2 separate regions of the Homo sapiens genome follow, and region 1 is linked to region 2. Evidence: promoter capture Hi-C in 16 types of primary human blood cells and fetal thymus (Javierre and others, 2016). All regions are on one chromosome and are shown on one strand. The core of a region is centred on a gene start or on the middle of the fragment in contact, and the rest is flanking DNA. Distances in the headings are between cores, read along the strand shown. Region 1 overlaps GALNT17 (polypeptide N-acetylgalactosaminyltransferase 17). Region 2 holds the start of GALNT17 (polypeptide N-acetylgalactosaminyltransferase 17).

Evidence for each region. Contacts are between HindIII fragments. The CHiCAGO score rates a contact against its expected background, and 5 or more counts as called.
Region 1: a contact is called between a fragment that was not itself captured here and the fragment with the promoter of GALNT17 in region 2, in 1 of 17 cell types (fetal thymus). The highest score is 5.1, in fetal thymus.

Annotation. Positions count from the first base shown.
Region 1 is chr7:71,628,322-71,634,795 of GRCh38, forward strand. The region is part of intron 6 of GALNT17 (polypeptide N-acetylgalactosaminyltransferase 17); the gene reads left to right. Among named protein-coding and RNA genes, the nearest start is that of MIR3914-1, 320 kb to the left of the region's middle. The HindIII fragment of the contact is 614 bases long and covers 3,274-3,887 here.
Region 2 is chr7:71,127,975-71,134,093 of GRCh38, forward strand. It overlaps GALNT17 (polypeptide N-acetylgalactosaminyltransferase 17), which reads left to right and starts at 4,170. Exons shown (of 11, transcript NM_022479.3): 1 at 4,170-5,066. The coding sequence starts at 4,829. The HindIII fragment of the contact is 4,375 bases long and covers 2,582-6,119 here.

The sequences.
Region 1 (6,474 bases), core at 2,331-4,830, 500 kb after region 2:
TTTATTTTTTATTTTTTTAAGACAGAGTCTCACTTTTGTCGACCAGACTGGAGTGCAGTGACATGATCTTGGCTCACTGCACCCTTTGCCTCCTGGGCTCAAGCAATTATCCTGCCCCAGCCTCCCGAGTAACTGGGATTACAGGCGTGTACCACCACGCCCAGCTAATTTTTGTATTATTAGTAGAGACGGGGTTTCACCGTGTTGGCTATGCTGGTCTCTAACTCGTGACCTCAGGTGATCCGCCCACCTTGGCCTCCGAAAGTGCTGGGATTACAGGCCTGAGCCACCATGCCCAGCCAATGTTTTTAAAGCTTATTCAGAATTGGCCAGGTGCGGTGGCTTATGCCTGTAATTCCAGCACTTTGGGAGGCTGAGGCACGTGAATCACTTGAGGTCAGGAGTTCGAGACCAGCCTGGCCAACATGGTGAAACCGCGTCTCTACTCATAATATAAAAAATTAGCCAGGTGTGGTGGCAAACGCCTGTAATCCCAGCTACTCAGGAGGCTGAGGCACGAGAATCGCTTGAACCCAGGAGGCAGAGGTTGCAGTGAGCCCAGATCGTGCCACTGCACCTCAGCCTGGATGACAGCGAGACTCTGTCTCAAAAAGTAAAAATTAAAATTTAAAAAAAAGCTTACCATTTGCATCTGAACCACTGTTCAGACTGTTTTTGGATGGGGAGTAGTCCATGGGCCACGCCCCTATCTGGGGGCACTGAGGGTAGAGAAGCAGGGCCTAGAAGAGGGGTCTAGAAGGGTCAAGAGGAGTTGGCTGGTGGAGAAGAAGGAAAGATTGTTTCAGAGAGAGGACCCTAGCAGAGGCACCAAGCAGGAAGTGCATGGCACCTGTGGAGTGGCCAGTGGCAAGTTAGGGTTCTAGCAGAGAGTGAGGGGGCAGAGGAATAGGGGAGGCCAGGCAGGAGGACAGATCAAGCTGCTCCAGCCAGGAGCCAGCCCACAATCCTGCGGGCTGCATTCACACCGTGTTCTGTTAATAACCAAGTGGAGCTTCATGCTTTGGGGTCATTGAGAATCTGATGACATCTACCTATGCACCCTGTCCTGAAGACATTACAAACTCAGAACATCATCTAACAATCTTGGGAGCTGGTTTTGGGATCCCTTAAAGCTTATCTAAAATCTCTAGGTTCGTTTTTATTTTTATTTTCAGTTGTATTTTGAGACAGGGTCTCGCTTTGTCACCCAGAATCAAGTGTGATCATGGCTCACTGTACCCTCAAATTCCTGGGCTCAAACAATCTTCCCACCTCAGCCTCTTGAGTAGCGGGGACTGTGGGCACTTGTCCCAACTAATTATTTATTTATTTTTGGAGAATTGGGAGTTGGGAGGTCTTGCTATGCTGCCCATGCTAGTCTTGAACTCCGGGCCTCAAGCAATCCCCCTGCCTCAGCTTCCCAAGTAGCTGGGACAGCAGGCACAAGCCACCATGCCTGAATTATATTTTTAAACTTTTTTATAGAGAGGCAGTCTTGCTGTATTTCCCAGGCTGGTCTCTAACTCCTGAACTCAAGCAGTCCTCCCATCTTGGCCTCCCAAAGGGCTGGGATTATTAGTGTGAGCCACTATACCAGGCCAAAGTCACCAGGTTCACAATACCTCCCAAACAGTTGAGCTGATAAACCCTCCTCATGTACTCATTCCTTCTAGTCCATGTTTATTATATCGTAACTTTGTGCTGACTCCAGTACTATCAGGCCTGCCAGATAGACACAGGACTGACACCACCCAGAGATCATTAGCCTGGGATCCAGACATCCAGGGGCAATGCTGAGACTAAAGCCAACTCCTGAACTCAAGCAGTCCTCCCACCTTGGCCTCCCAAAGGGCTGGGATTATAGGTGTGAGCCACTACACCAGGCCAAAGTCACCAGGTTCACAATACCACCTAAACAGCCCTTTCTTCAGGTAACTGAAAAGATGCTCTTACAAGGACCATTAAGGCTCAAGATAAGGAACAGCCTTCGCTTGGCAAACTCCCGTGCCAAAAAAGCCAAGGATAAACTCAGAACATCCAGTCTGGATGAAGGTCTCAGCATTGCCCTAACACACCCATAAGGCCCCCAGTGCACTGATCCCCTCCTCCTTTCCTTGACCTCTTTTTGTCTGGCTGACTCTGCATTTCTATCTCTTTTCATGGACCCTAATGAGTTTCACCGGGTAGCTATGGTGGCCAAGGACACTCAGAACCGGAATTTCATTGATGCTTGTTAGGATTGATACCCATTTAGTGGACAATCTCATCAATGTTTGCATGGAATGTAAAAATCAGCCAGCAAATGGAAACATACCCAGAGAGGCAGCTGGTGTAATTGGCCCTCACAAACACATGAGAAGTGCTCTTCTAAAAATACCAGGGCACCTCATACTGAAAGGCAGGCCAGAGACTGAATTCAGCAAGAGCTGAAAACAGCCAGGACAAAGTGTTTGGATCTTCCAGTGCAATCCGGAAATCATGGAGCTTGATATTGAGGACCCAAGGGAGAAGTGCCATTTCAGATTTAAAGAAAATAAGCAAATTTGAGATAGGCCACGTCGTTAGAATACTACCCAAGAATAGTATGTGTTGATGCTGATAAATTAGGGTACAGGTACTTCAATTCGTTTATTCATTCAGTTGTTCAATGAGCACTTACTGGGTACCAGGCCCTATTCTGGCCCTGGGAATGCAGGAAGGAACAGAACAGATACAATTCCTGCCTGTTGCAGTGGACAATGAGCAAATAAATACATAATTTGGAGAAAGGAGAGAGAGATTGGAAGGGAGAGGGGAGATTGTTTTGCATTCTGTAGCCAGGGAACATTGTGGTGTAAGGAAGTGTTTAAGTAGTAAATCTTTTATTTTTATTTTTACTTTTTTTTTTTTTCTTGAGACAATTGCCCTGTTGCCCAGGCTGGAGTGCAGTGGTATGATCATAGCTCACTGTAGCCTCAACCTCCTGGGCTCAAGCGATCCTCCCATTTCTACCTCCTGAGTAGCTGGTACTGATGGACATGCATGACCACACCCAGCTAATTTTTAATATTTTGTAGAGAGGTCTCACTATGTTGCCCAGGCTGGTCTGGAATTCCTGGGCTTCAGCTATCATCCCTTATTGGCCTCCCAAAGCACTGGGATTAGGTGTGAGCCACCATGCCCAGACTCAGTAGTAAATCTGAATGAAGTAAGGGAACAAGTCTTGTGGGCTTCTGGAGGAAGAATATTCCATGTGGGAAGGATGGGAAATTCAACAGCCCTTCAACAAGAACAAGCTTGGTCCAGTTGAGGAAGAGCAAGGAGGCCACTGTGGCCGGAGTGGCATCAGCAAAGGTGAGAGTGAGAGGAGATAAGGGAAGGAAGGAGGAGGATGAACCATTTGCCGTCATGTAGATCTTGGTGTGTACTCTGAGTAGAATGGGAGCCATGGGAGGGTTTTGAGCTGAGGTGCAATATTGGGATGGTTAATTTCATAGGTAAATTTCACTGGTCGCAGGGTGCCCGGATTAAATATTAATTCTGCACGTGTCTGTGCTGGTGTTTTCAGAAGAGATTAGCATTTGAATGGGTTAACTCGCCCAGCTGAGTTATTCTTTTTTTGTGTGTGTAGAGACAGGGGTCTTGCTCTGTTGCCCAGGCTGGTCTCAAACTCCTGGCCTCAAGCAATTCTCTGGCCTTGTTCACCCAAAATGCTGGGATGACAGGTGTGAGCCACTGCATCCAGCCCTTTAAAGAAGGCTTTAAAGGACCTGAAGATGTTTAGTCTAAAAAAAAAAAGAAAAAGAAAAAAGACTGGGGCTGAGAGAGCCCTTTCTTCAGATACCTGAAAAGATGCTCTTACAAGGACCATTAAGGCTCAAGATAAGGAACAGCCTTGTGTCCGGCCAAGCTTTTCCACTGTGGAGCAGGCTGCTTTTCCACTGTGAGCTTTTGTCCCTGGAAGCAAGGCCCTGGGGGACCACCTGCCGGGTGCCGGGAGCACTGGGATCTGCCTGCCCTATTTCAGGTTGTCCATGCATGCATTCATTCCTGTGATATGGATGGGATTCCCATTGCCCGGTGTTGGGGTTCGAATATTACACAAGATCCAGCCCTAGCCCTCAAAGAAAGGAGAAGGCAGTAGGTGCTCTGATGGGGTGAGAGTGTCCATGAGGGGCCCTGTTCTGACTTGGGTGAGTAGAGTGATATCTACGACCAAGCTCAAAAGCACAAGCACTTTCAGCCGAGCTGAATACATCTAATGCATCTGTGGGTCTGTGTGTGTTGGGGACAAGGATGAGGAGAGAATCTGGGACCACGCTAGACATGGATGGAAAATACAACCAGAATGTAGCAAGTGAGAAGGGCTGGTGGAAACTCCTTCTCTCAGGGCCCAGACCAGGGGGAGGATTGTGAGCCCGGGGAACCTGTCTTTATTTCAACTTCTGACATTTTGCTCACCGTGGATTTTCTGCATGATTTTTGATTTATTAAACATTGCATCAAAATACTATTTATCTTGGCCAGGCATGGTGGTTCATGCCTGTAATCCCAGCAATTTGGGAGGCTGAGGTGGGTGAATCACTTGAGGCCAGGAGGTCGAGATCAGCATGGCCAACATAGCAAAACCCTGTCTCTACTAAAAATACAAAAACTAGCTGGGCATGGTGGCACACGCCTGTAATCCCAGCTACTTGGGAAGCTGAGGCATGAGAATCGCTTGAACCCGGGAGTGGGAGGTTGCAGTGAGCCGACATCGCACCACTGCACTCCAGCCTGGGCGACAGAGTGAGACTCTGTCTCAAAAAAAAAAAAAAAAAAAAAAGAAGGTTGATTATTGATTATTTAGTTCTAGGGGGTGCTTAAATGTGGTTCACAGAGAATGGCACTGGGAAGGTGTCAGTGAAGAAAACATAGTCCCTGCCATTCTCACTCGCCATGTCCCAGGCACAGCCCGGCTGTGGGTTGGGAAGGTTTCCCAATATGGAACACTCTAGTGCAATGTGGGGAGTTTGCATCATAAAATCATAGGATGGGGCTTCAAATCATGGCCTGCCTAACCTGACCCCCTGCAAAGGGGCAGACTGAGGCTACGCAGTTTGTCCTGGGGGCCGGGATAGCTCTCCTGTCGGCTGATGGCTTGGGGAGGATTCTCCCGAAGTCCTTATTCAGAAGCAAACTTCTTTTACCAGGCAGGGAGTGTTAAAGGGAAATGTGGCCGAGGAAATGAATGCGGCTGTCAGTATTTACCGGCTCATTATTTATTTATTTATGTAGGGGATTTCTGTTCTCTCTGCTAATCTTCATATAACATGCCTCATTGCCCTCTGAGGGCCCCGAGAGGATCCTCGCAGCATTTGTAGGGTGGAATTTGTTCTTGAAGCTCTGTTTCTGGTTGCTCATTCCTTGCTTCCTTGCAAATACCAGAGAGGAAATGAGTCATCTCAGAGACAAGCCTCTCACTCATTCCTACCAGCTGCTGGCAAATCCAAGGCGTAATTGGCATTTGCAGGTAGGGTCCAAAGGAAAAAGCACATTTTTTTGCTTTCAGTTTGAAGTCATGTGCTCAGCGACATCAAGCATTGAGAAGGGAGCCAGCCCCGGGCAAGGCAGAGACAAAGGGGGTTGGGGAGCTTGGGTGGAGGGCCCAAGGGCCCAGCCCATGCCCACACACATGGTGTGACTGGCCTCCTGTCTATTAAACTCTCTCTACTACAATACTGTGGTCTTTCTTTATGCAGTGGGCAGGAAGAACCCCTCGGGCAGTGACATCTCTCAAATATTGTACATTGTATTCGACAGGTAATCTTGCAACCCTCAGCCCCCTCCTTCCCTCCCCCTTTTTGGAGTCTCCAGTGTCTATTACTTCCATCTTTCTGTCCATGTGCAATTGGTAGAATTTAGACCTCCTAAGGGCCGTGTGGAGCCACTGAAGATGGGGAGTGCCATGGTCAGATTTGCACTTTTGGGGGGTCCGTTTGTTGACAAAAAGAGTCAAACTCTGTAAAATATTTGAAGAGATTTATTCTGAGCCGAATGTGAGTGACCATCGCCTGGGACACAGCCCTCAGGAAGTCCTGGGAACTTGTGCCCAAGGTGGTTGGGGCGCAGCTTGGTTTTATGCATTTTAGGGAGACATGAGACATCAATCAAATACATTTAAGAAATATAAGCCAGGCACGGTGGCTCACGCCTGTAATCCCAGAACTTCGGGAGGCTGAGGCGGGCAGATCACCTGAGGTCAGGACCTCGAGACCAGCCTGACCAACATGGTAAAACTCCGTCTCTATTAAAAATACAGAAATTAGCCATGTGTGGTGGCCAGTACCTGTAGTCCCAGCTGCACAGGAGGCTGAGCCAGGAGAATTGCTTGAACCTGGGAGGCGGAGGTTGCAGTGAGCCGAGATGGTACTACTGCACTCCAGCCTGGGCGACGGAGCGAGACTCCATCTCAAAAAAAAAAAAAAAGAAAAAAGAAAAAGAAAAAAAGAAATA
Region 2 (6,119 bases), core at 2,920-5,419:
CTCACTCCTGTAATCCCAGCACTTTGGGAGGCTGAGGTGGGCAAATCACCTGAGGTCAGGAGTTCAAGACCAGCCTGACCAACATGGAGAAACCCTGTCTCTATAAAAAAAAAAAAATACAAAAATTAGCCTGGTGTGGTGGCATGTGCCTGTAATCTCAGCCACTCGGGATGCTGAGACAGAAGAATCGCTTGAACCTGGGAGGCGGAGGTTGTGGTGAGCCGAGATCATGCCATTGCACTCCAGCCTGGGCGACAAGAGAGAAACTCCGTCCAAAAAACAAAACAAAACAAAATAAAAAACACCCTGCAGGTAGGAGGCCATAATCCTAAGAGGATTAACGCAGGAACAGAAAACCAATTACTGCATGTTTTCACTTATAAGCGGGCACTAGACATTGAGTATGTGTGGACATCAAGATGGGGACAATGGACACTGGGGCTACTACAAGGGGGGTGGGGGGGAAATGGATTGAAAAACTACCAGCCGGGCACAGTGGCTCACTCTTGTAATCTCAGCACTTTGGGAGGCCGAGGCAGGCAGATCACCTGAGGTCAGAAGTTCGAGACCTGCCTGGCCAACATGGCGAAATCCCATCTCTATTAAAAATGCAAAAATTAGCCAGGCGTGGTGGCCCTGCCTGTAATCCCAGCTACTTGGGAGGCTGAGGCAGGAGAATCGGTTGAACCCAGGAGGTGGAGGTTGCAGTGAACCCAGATCGTGCCACTGCACTCCAGCCTGGGCAACGGCAAGACTTCTCTCAAAAAAAAAAAAAAAAGAAAGAAAGAAAGAAAGAAAACTACCTATTGGTTCTATTGGTTACTATGCTCATTAGTACCTGGGTGACAGAATCCGTACCCCAAACCTTAGCATCACACAATATACTCATGTAACAAACCTGCACGTATACCCTCTGTGTCTAAAATGAAAGTTGAAATTATAACAACCAAAACTCCAGTATCTTTTGCAATGCTCAGGGTTTTATGAGAGTGAAGGCTTTGCCTCGCGAATTCTAGCAAGAGTAAATGAGTTGGCCAAACCTCTGTAGAGAGATGAGTCCCTGGTTTCCCTTGGCGAAACTCCAAGTATTTTAACTCCTGTTATGGACTCAGATGAGATGCGATACATTTTTAACAGACAAACAAAGGGGACAGAGTCATGTCAAAGGCATATGTTATTTGAACCATGGTTGAGTGAAAAATGTATTTGAAATAAAAAATCCTTGCACAGAAATACCATTGGTCTCTTTCCTTTCAGTTTGCTCAACCAACCAACCAAAGAAACTCTTTTGATAAAGCTTTTGTAGTTAAACTGAGTTTTATGACTGGGAATGGTTTTGGGTGCCATCCAAGATAAATTTCTTCTTTTAAAGTCAAGAACAGATTTATTCTTTGGTGACCGAAATGGGACTGGAACCCAGACCTTATGGCGAGCAGACCACACAGCCACTGAAGTGTAGTTTTGTTGGTTTCAGAAGCAGCTGGTATATAATAAACGTTTAGTTGATTATGTTTTTGCATATATAACATGCTAGGCAGGTCCTTAAACTTTTAGGGTCATTGACTATGTTGAGAATCTGATGAAACTTACAGGTCTTTTCCCCAGAAAAATGTCTATGTAACATGCAGATACACTTTTTCATCTGATTGAGAGCTATTCATGAACTCCTGAAGTCTAGCTAGGGTGTCTCTAGGGAGAGGAGCTGGCTAGGGACATGGAATAGAGCTTTTCAGTAGAATCGAAGGCCCAGGTAAGGTTAGACACCACCAATTGGAAATGCCTGCAGGCTTTGAGATGATGTGGTTTTTCCCTGGGTACACTTGCTCTTGCCTTTGTCCTTGGGTTGAGAAAGAAGAAGGTGAAATTGATTCAGAGTTGGGGATTGCTAGGCTGGGGCAGTGGAAAAATATGATATACATGTGCATGATCCTTAATAGCAGGCCCTATTAGGAATGTGTTTGAAATAAATGACTAACCATGAACTCCAGAAAGAGGAGGGAAGGAACTCCAGAGGGGATAGAGAGGCATGGACACCTGGGAAGGAGAAGGAAGTTGTTGGCTGGAGAATATGTTTGTTTGGAGTTGAGAATGGGAGAGGTAAAAAGCTAGGGAACAGTAATAACAGGCTGGGATTTTAGTGCAGGATTGCAGGAGTGGAAGGCTCCTCTGTGAATACAGGGTTCAGGATGAGGCCATGACAGTGGGTCACTCATTGAGTAGTGTCCAGTGTCATTTTTGAACACAGAAGCTGCCCAGAATGCGTGCAGGAGCTGAGAGGAGGCTCCTGGAGGATGCATGATAAAGCCAAAAGTTAATTTGCATCAGGGACCTCTCTGGCTTTAGAGAAAGCACAGAAATCTCTCTGAAATTGAAATTTGCCTGGAAACTTCTCGATTACTCTGAGGCTGTTTCCTCTACTTTGTTTCCTGTCTTCCACTCCCAAATATGCACACGCTTGAGAGTCAGCCTCAAGCACATACTTAGAGCCACTTACTGCTTCTCGGGCACCCTAGCCCAATGCCTCAGCCTCCCTGGCTTCAGTCCTGCGGCTGAGTGAATGTTCAAAAATTATTTTTGCAGAAGCTTCCATTGATTGTGCTAGCTCCATCTGTAGTGTGGTTATAATAACACCCAACTCAACTGGATACTCCATGAGATGCTCAGTAACCCAAGTTTCTTCCCACACAGCCTCTCTCTTGCCTAACATGTGTGGCTAAAAATCATCCCTTGGGCCTTTTTAACTGTTTTGTGTCCACTTTCAGGTAGATTTTACAAAGCATGCGCCCTGAGGACCCGATTGCACCCAGGCAGAGAATTCCAAGGGAATGAAATAAAAAGACTATTTTTTTGCATATACATTTCTATGTTAAAAATCAAAACTTAAAATAATACACAGGCAAAAACAAAACAAGAAACCAAGCCCCAGAAAAAACCAAAACAACCGCAAAAACAAAAACAAAAACTTTAATGAGATCAAAATGATGAGGGGAAAACGATCAGCTCCATTTAGCTTTGCTGCCCGATTTTTATTAGTTGGCGGCCTGATTTCTATTTTAGACCCAAGGAATTAAATGGATCAACCGGGGTGGGGGGGCGTTGAATTCCAGTATTTCGAGTTCCTGGGTTTTGGGAAGAGGAAGAGGTAGTGGAAAACCAGGAGCCAAATGAATATGCTTCTTATAATAAAATTTGAACAGAGCAGCGGGTGGGCCTAGAAGCAGTGACTGGGGAGGTTAGAATTCTTGCACGCAGAGAACCCCCCCAAGCCCGCTCACGCCCGGCCTGGCTCCGAAGGTCTCAGAATCCGAGCCTCCAGGCCAGATTTTCCCTCTAGCCATTCCTGGCCACGCAGCGCGGAGCCGCGAGCACACAGAAAAGGATGTCTTCATCGCCAACCGGGATGGAACGAACCCGCCCGCTCAGGGAGTACTGAGAACTAAAGGGTCCCTCCAGCGCCGGCCGCAGCCAGCATGCCTTGACTGCCTCCATCCCGCGCGGTCCCCACTCTCCAGAAGCCCCCGCCCTGCCCGGGTGCGCGCGCGCACGAGTCGGCGAACCGGGGAGCTGTGCGCTCGGCAGCCTGCGGGCGGCGGCGGCGGCCGCCGACAGCCTCTCGGGGACAGGGTGGCGAAGAGCGGCGGAGGAGGAGCTGGCGCCGCCGCCGCTCCCCTCGGGCCGCGCCCCGCCCTCCGCCGCCACCTGCGCGTCCCCTCCGGGCTCCTCAGCTCCGGGGCTGTGTGGCTCTCGGTGCCGCAGCGGCGGTGTCACCGCGTCCGCCAATTGGGAGACTCGGCGTTTTGGCTCCCGGGGGCGCGGGACGAGCCGCGCGGCCGGATCTGGCGAGCGGAGGGTGATTCGGCACGCGTACCTCCCCGCCGCGCTGCCCGCGACGTTTTGGGAGGGGGTAGAGAACTGCTGTGACTTTTGAGGTCCGACTCCTTCCGGCCAGCCTCGCGACGCGCCAGCTCCGAGACAGGCCGGTGTGCCCTGAAGGCCCCGAAGGCTCTCGGCGCGGTTTGGGGGCTTGGAACGTGTCCGGGAGCCGGCGGCGCTGTGAGCGCTGGTGAGTTTGCCGGCGGGGTGGGGTGGACTCCGCGCGGGGGGCGGAGAGGACGTAGCGCTCGGCCCGGCGCCCGCCCCCTAGTGCTGCCCCCACTTTGAGAGTAATTGAGACTTGAGCGTGACTGCGGAGCCTGGAGGATGCGGGCTCCCCGAGCGGGCTTCCCCTCTGCCCGGCGCGATGGAGCGGGTCGGTGAGCGGAACAAAGGCGCCTGCCCGGGGGAGCGGGTCTTCCGCTGAAGAGCGCGGGTGGCGCGCCGCGACGGCCGCCTGCGGGCCAAGGTGGGAGGCTGTGCGGCCCCAGGCGCGGCGCGCTCCGCCGTGGGCGGGCGGCGATCCCTGAGTCCGGCACCTGTGCGCCGCTCCCTCTGTGCCTCCCGGGCAGCCCCGCCTGCCGGCCTCGGAGTCCGCGGCGCCGGCGGCTAGAGGTCCAGAGGCGAACCACTTGCTGGTGCAGAAGAGAAACCCTCAAATCCCTGGCCTTTCGCGGAGACGCCTGGACGGGGCCGTGCGCCGTGGACTGAGCAGGCGTCTCGGGGAGCACTTCTGCAGAGCGAGGACTTCCATGTGAGCGATTCCGTTCTCCCCACCACCAATCCGACCTCCCAGCCGTCTCCGCCGCCCGAGCATCCTTGAGGTGGGACGAGCAGGGGCTTGGATCCCTGCCGGCCGTCTGGTGTGTGAGGCTTGCACGGCCCCTGGCTGCCCCGCGCCTCGCCGGAGCCCGAGGGGGCGCAGGTCCGGGGCGAGGGCCGGCCGGGCTGTTTGATGGCTTCACTGAGAAGAGTCAAAGTGCTGTTGGTGTTGAACTTGATCGCGGTAGCCGGCTTCGTGCTCTTCCTGGCCAAGTGCCGGCCCATCGCGGTGCGCAGCGGAGACGCCTTCCACGAGATCCGGCCGCGCGCCGAGGTGGCCAACCTCAGCGCGCACAGCGCCAGCCCCATCCAGGATGCGGTCCTGAAGCGCCTGTCGCTGCTGGAGGACATCGTGTACCGGCAGCTGAATGGTAAGGACGCACGCCGGCGCCTCCGGGGCTCGACGCGGGCGGGCCGGGCACAGGGTGAGCCCCAGGGTCCTTGCGCGCTGCGCCCTGTGCCTGGGAGCCGGCACACCCTGGCTCCCGCGCGCTCCTTCTTACCCTTCCTGCCCCGTTTCGGGCAGATGGCCGGGGCTGCTGGAAAGAACAACTTGCCTGATTCTTTTCTGTGCCCCACCTGCAAATTTGGTTTTATCCTGGAAACATGTCAGTACAGTTGGCTCCCGGTCCCCGCGTGCGGACTGGAAATCATTCCCTGGCGACTCCAGCCCGAGCGCAGAAACTAGTGGAGGGGCCACATGGGACTGGAGGCGCGCGGGCAGACGTGTAGGAGGAAATAGTCTTAGAGCCCAGCGTTTGGTGGGGTACCAGTAGGGAACCTGGGAGATTGGAGGGCTTGGATGTCTGCAGACAAAGTCAAGGCCCCAGGTCGCGGAGCTAATGCGCTTAGGTAGTATATGGGAGGAATATGTCATCTGTCTATGAGGCGAGCTGCTCAGCTAAGAATGAGGACTCCTCCCTTCCTGCCGCCTGTGTTTCTCCTTGGGGGCTGCGGAGGGGCGATTGTTAAAGCTCAGGGTGGGCCTGCGAAGTTTCCAGAATGTAGCACAGAGAGATGTGGCATCCCATTAGTGACAGTTGTCTGAATCTGTCCCATCTAAAATGTTGTGCTCAGTACTTCAGGAGAAGAGGGAGACTTTTTATGTGCTCTTGTCACACCTGGGCCAGGTCATTGGACACTAGCTGTCCCCAACGTCAGAGTGAGTGTTACCTACCTGAGTACAGGCAGGTTTCCAGGATGCGTGGGGTTATCCAAGGCAGATACGTACTTAGGTACAGACTACCTCCTCCCTTTCTGAGCTTGTAACTCATGTTCTCAAACGAACTGCAGATAATCACGAAGATCGTGATAATAATAACTGATGGAATTCTTGCTCTGTGCCAGATGCGTGCAAAGACATTACAAGTACATTATCTCACTGTATGTTCACATCTGTCCAGCGAGGCTCCACCCATCCACAG